Linked DNA regions of Homo sapiens: region 2 is linked to region 1. Evidence: promoter capture Hi-C in 16 types of primary human blood cells and fetal thymus (Javierre and others, 2016). All regions are on one chromosome and are shown on one strand. Each heading gives the region's core, a stretch centred on a gene start or on the middle of the fragment in contact. The rest is flanking DNA. Distances are from core to core; before and after follow the strand shown.

Region 1 (2,622 bases), core at 59-2,558:
TGGGGCTGGCCTTAGGAGGTGGTCCTCCTTGTTCCCCTTTTCTTGCCTGTTTCAGGGCCCGCTCGGCCTCCTGCTTGGCTCGACGCTCAGCCCGAAGTTCGGCCTTACTCCGACCAGCTGGAACTTTCTCCCGAGGAGTGCCCAACTGAATGCCCGATTCTGGCAGTTCTCTGGTTGGGCCTACTAAAAGCATTAAAAAAAAAAATGCCCAAGCTGCAGGCAGGTGATATCCGTGCCCCAGCTAAAACTAGCTTCTCTCCTTGTAAACCTCTTTGCTTTACACACTTGCTCAAATCAACTTTGTCCTGTCTCTCCCTTATCTCTCCCACCACATCCCTCTACCAGCTCCACACCCCAGCCCTTTAAAAGAGACCCCTCACTCACCTTGACATTGGGCTGCAGATACAGCAGAGCCAGTCTCTGGTTCTGCCCCCTTTTCTTCCTTCCGTTTCTTCTTCTGCTGTTTCTTTTCCTTCCGAAGCTGCAGCTTTTCTTCTTTGGTCATTTCCCTCCCCACTGCCTGAGACACAGACATAGGATACTGCTCTTCCCCAACAATTCCAAAGGGGAACAAATACTATTGGATGCTTACAAGATTTCCACATGGTTAAATCCCTAGTTCTTCCTAACTTCCACAAGCTACCTGTTGCAAGCTTACATCCACAGAGGCTGACGTTTCTCCTCCAGGGACAGAATCATATATCCCTAGGGTTGCAAGACCTCTGTAAAATCTCCTGGCTTTACTGAGAAATAAACCGACACGGGATGGGAGCTGGGGCGGAATAAAGCTGGCACAGCCTCCTGCGTAGCGCTTGGCAGGCGGCTTGGGAGGGAAGCCTCACTTACCCCAGGCCCAGGGGGAAGCTCCGCCTTCATCCCGGATCCCGAGTCTGCATCAGAAAACAGGGCACAAAGTGAGCCAGAGAGACTCCGGGAGGGTTTGGGGGCACGAGTACTCGGCGCAGCCGGCTGCTGGGTTGGCATGACCACGGATCCGCCGGCAGGCGCGAGGCGAGCCAGGGATCCGCGTGGGGACGCACTGCGCGGCGGATCAAAGGAATGGAGGGGTCACCGACCCTCCTCACAGCAACCAGCCGGTGCGCGGCGCGGGACTGCGCTCGAGACTGTGTAGACCGGAGCCCAGCGTGGCGCTGGAACGGAGCGGCGGGGCCCAAAGGCGCTCAAGGCCCGGCACTAGCTGTCCGGAGCTCGTCGGCTCCGCGTACCAGTAGGCAGGCCCGGCTCTTCACTCACCCTCGCGAACAGCCACGGCCACAGCAGCCATCGCCCTCAGTCCTAGGCTCCGCCCGCCGTGGTCACGGAGCCGCCCCGCTGCCTCGCTCCGCGGCTGCAGGGTCCACAGCGCCACCTGGGCTGGAGGCTGAGCCGCAGAAGCGAAGCGCGCAGCCCCAATCGGACTACAATTTCCGACGGGCCCCGAGGCCCCGCCCCGCACTACGGGTTGCAATGAGGGCCAACTCCACTTTGGGCTCCCTATCCGGACAGGTGGCTCTTGCCCTTTAGACTACAGTTCCCAGCATGCCCAGGCGATTGCGTCCCAGAACCGACGTCCCACCGCCTTCCCACATCGGATCGCAGGGCTCCCAAAATGGCGAGTGAGGCTGCGGGGACTCGCTGAGCAGCGGAGGGGGAGCGTGCAGAGCCGCTGCGGCCCTCACAGTCCGGAGCCCGGCCGTGCCGTGCCGTAGGGAACATGCACTTTTCCATTCCCGAAACCGAGTCCCGCAGCGGGGACAGCGGCGGCTCCGCCTACGTGGTGAGGAGCGGCCGGAGCCGAGCCGGGCCGGGCAGGGGCGGGGATAACGGGCCCGAGCCATCTCGGAGCGGCCTCTGAGGCCTGACCGCCACCCTTCGGGCCTGGTCCTGGGCCGCCGACTCCCGACGGCCTCTCTGGGAGCTTATCTCATGTGTGTGATTCGTGCAGTGGTCGCCCGAGCTCCTGTAGGCCCTTAGGCCGGGTCGCTTCCCCGAGCTAGGCCGCAGCTGCCCTGGTGGGCGTCACTGGCCTCTTGGGCAGTGAGACTGCAACACAAGCGTCCGAATTTCCCCCGGACTGGCTCTTCAGCTTTGGGACTTGGCCCTGGCGAAAACAAGCGAACTATCCCTCGGGAGATTAGCGCGTTACTCCGGCGAGTTGCCAGGCAACTTCCGGCCAGGGTTCTCAGGGGGGTTGCGCAGACCGCAACCCTAAAATGCTTGACTACTTTTGTGTCCTCAGGCCTATAACATTCACGTGAATGGAGTCCTGCACTGTCGGGTGCGCTACAGCCAGCTCCTGGGGCTGCACGAGCAGGTGGGACTAGCACCCCTGCCTTGAGACAGCTTCAAGCCCTTCCCTACACGTGGACATCAGTGTCTCCCTTTACCCGCTCTTCTTGTTCCCGTAGGCTGTAGTTCCCCTTTAATCACTGCCACAGGGTAGGGCCCTGGTTTATCTTGTCTGACATTTCCGGGAACTCCCTAAGAAGCTTAATGTCCGCGCAACAACTGCTCCTTCCTGTTCTTATATTCTGGTTTTCTGTCCAGTCTTACTGCTCTAGTAGCCTTTACCCCTGCATGGACAAACCAACCCCTCCCCCCACTACCTCCACCCAGGCTGTC
Region 2 (2,622 bases), core at 61-2,560, 1.5 Mb before region 1:
CTATCACGTTCCGCCGGGCGCCTCCATTCCCACAGGGATCGCAACCCCGACACTAACCGCCGCCCTCTCCGCGCGGTTTTGTGCCCCTTCAGCCGGGTCCCTGGGCCAGTGACCTCCCTTTCCCTGCGACTGGCGGGCGACAAGGGAACAAAATCCTCCCGGCCTTCCCCTTCGCTCCCTCCCCCTTACCGTCTTGGCGGCCTCCGCCCAGGTCCTGCCCTTCTTCCTACGTCCCTTTTCCCTCATGTCGGGTCTTGAACTGACTGGGAGGCTCCCGTGTCCGGGCTCCGGCCGCCCTCCCTGCCTGCTCTGCCCTGCGCTGCTTTTCCCGCGGTGCCGGGAAAGGTGGGAGAAAAGGGAAGTCAGACCGGGGGGGCACCCAAGCAGAGGAAGCGGCGGGGGTGGTGCGCGGGGGGGTCTATGGGGCGGCCGGTCCTCTTGCTGCCGTTGCCACTGCTACCGCCGCTGCCATATTGGGTTCTTACTGTACAGGCTGCCGCTACGGTCATGTGACCGCTCCCGCGCGGCCGTCACTACTGTACGCAGCCGGCCGCGCGAACGAGCGCGGGCGCGCCCCCGCCTCCCAAGCCCGGCCGCTGAGCTATCGAGCCGGCGGTCTGCGGTACCTCGCCACGCCCCCGCCCTTCCGGTCTCCGCCTCTCCGCAGGAGCATGCGCGCCAAGGAGGCCCCGGCAGTAGCTGTAGTCTGACGCCTGGCGCTCACACCTACAGCGAATATCTGCCTGCGGAAGCGGAACCTGTGCCATCCGGGAAAGCTTACTGAGCGGATCCCGCCTCTTGCGAGGCGCTGCACAGGCTGTGTAGACCTGGGGAGCTGAACTCTTCCCTCAGTGGGTGGCTCTGCCAACTATCACTTTAGATCAGCCCTGCGTTTGTGTTTTCTCATTTATTTGCATTTTTACAGAGGTTATCTTTTTGAAGATAGGCAACAATTCTCGTCTGCCTATTAACCCCATTCGATAGGCGAAGCAACTGAGATTGAGTGACTTGCCAAGCTCATAAGTCTGGGATGTAGAGAAACCAAAAATCAAATTGCCAGCTCAGAGCCCTTTCCATCTCCCCAGAATGCCTCAAACTTAGGTGACTTTGTTTTTAAGGCCACCAGTAACTGCATCCATGCTTTTACATGTGAAGCTACTCATCAATGACAGAAATGGTGTCTTCTTTATTTCGGTGAGCTCAGTCCCTAGCATAGTGCCTGTACATATCAGGCGCCCAGTAAATATTTGCTGAATGATTCACCTATTTCTGTGGTCAGAGACCATTATTTGTAGTATCCGTAACAGCTTTCTGAAAGATCCAGAATGTGGCATCTTCTCTTACATCATCTACACCTTGATACCTTGCAAAGTAAGAAGAATGTAGTAACAACTGCTGATCTCCCAAATCCACCTGCTTCCAGAAGCTGCTTCCAAACAATCCAGTAAACTTACTATAGTGTGAAATAGGACTGAGGATTGGATTGCCTCTTGGGAGGAAAGACAGGTGAGAGCAATACTTAAAGTTTATGGATGCGTTTCAGAAATTCATGGACTCCCTAAAATTATGAACTATATTTTGTGTGTTATATGTGAATTTTTTAAGAGGATTCATAACTTTTCCTCCATTTTTCAAAAAGGATCTGTTGTGCAAAAAAAAAAGAGAAAAAGATATTAAAGGGAGTTTGAGAGGCCATCTAGAAGTATCTAGATACTTCCTTATATTTCCGTTCAGTCATGGATCAAACAGCCTATTTCAGCAATTGATATGGATATATTTTCCCAAATGTCTTTGGTAATTCATAGCCTTATGCATTACACAGGTAGTATGTACCACCTCCCTCCAAAGCTTATGTCTGTAGTCTAAGAAGGCCTTCTCGCCAGGTGCGGTGGCTCACGCCTGTAATCCCAGCATTTTGGGAGGCTGAGGTGGTCAGATCACTTGAGGCCAAGAGTTCAAGACAAGCCTGGCCAACATGGAGAAACCCCATCTCTACTAAAAATACAAAAATTAGCTGGGCCTGGTGGCATGCGCCTGTAATCCCAGCTACTTGGGAGGCTGAGGCAGGAGAATCGCTTGAACCTGGGAGGCAGAGGTTGCAGTGAGCCCAGAGATCGCGCCATTACACTCCAGCCTGGGCAACAGAGCAAGACTCTGTCTCAAAAAAGAAAGAGAGACAGAGAGAAAGAAAGAGAAAGAGAGAAGAGAAAAAAAGGTCTTCTCCATCCCTGGCTGTTGAGCTGAGTACAGCTTATCATCCAGTCCTGTTGTTTGGTCCTGGAGCCCCAACTGGTTTTCAGACCTTACTAGGGTCCTTACTTTGCATTTCTGGAGCTCTATCCCCAGGTTTGAATTTCAAGGGTAGGGATTGTGATGTTGTGGTTCCTACTTCTTAATCTTCCACAGATACAGATAGTTTATTATTATTATAAAAGTATAATTCCCCAAAAAGTATTTTGTCCCCATGTCTATTGATTGAATTTGTTATGTGTATTTGCATCTCTCTCATCATCCCCACCCTCCTTCTGGATTTCCTTAGATAGTCTGTTTCTTTTCTCACCCTACTCAAGCCCATCCTACAGGGAATGCCAAATCTATCTTCTTAAAACTCCACCCACTACC

The links. The method cuts DNA at HindIII sites, captures the fragments that hold promoters and counts their contacts. A CHiCAGO score of 5 or more calls a contact.
Region 2: a contact is called between a fragment that was not itself captured here and the fragment with the promoter of EIF2B4 in region 1, in 1 of 17 cell types (fetal thymus). The highest score is 6.0, in fetal thymus.

Annotation. Positions count from the first base shown.
Region 1 is chr2:27,369,030-27,371,651 of GRCh38, forward strand. It overlaps EIF2B4 (eukaryotic translation initiation factor 2B subunit delta), which reads right to left and starts at 1,309. Exons shown (of 13, transcript NM_001034116.2): 1 at 1,255-1,309; 2 at 847-890; 3 at 385-520; 4 at 1-183. The coding sequence starts at 1,285. SNX17 (sorting nexin 17) reads left to right here and starts at 1,587. Exons shown (of 15, transcript NM_014748.4): 1 at 1,587-1,777; 2 at 2,240-2,314. The coding sequence starts at 1,715. RefSeq lists enhancers at 555-1,516, 990-1,269, 1,490-1,579, 1,517-2,478, 1,600-1,659 and 1 more. The HindIII fragment of the contact is 1,836 bases long and covers 652-2,487 here.
Region 2 is chr2:25,877,977-25,880,598 of GRCh38, forward strand. It overlaps ASXL2 (ASXL transcriptional regulator 2), which reads right to left and starts at 511. Exons shown (of 13, transcript NM_018263.6): 1 at 190-511. The coding sequence starts at 246. RefSeq lists a silencer at 531-690. The HindIII fragment of the contact is 1,072 bases long and covers 775-1,846 here.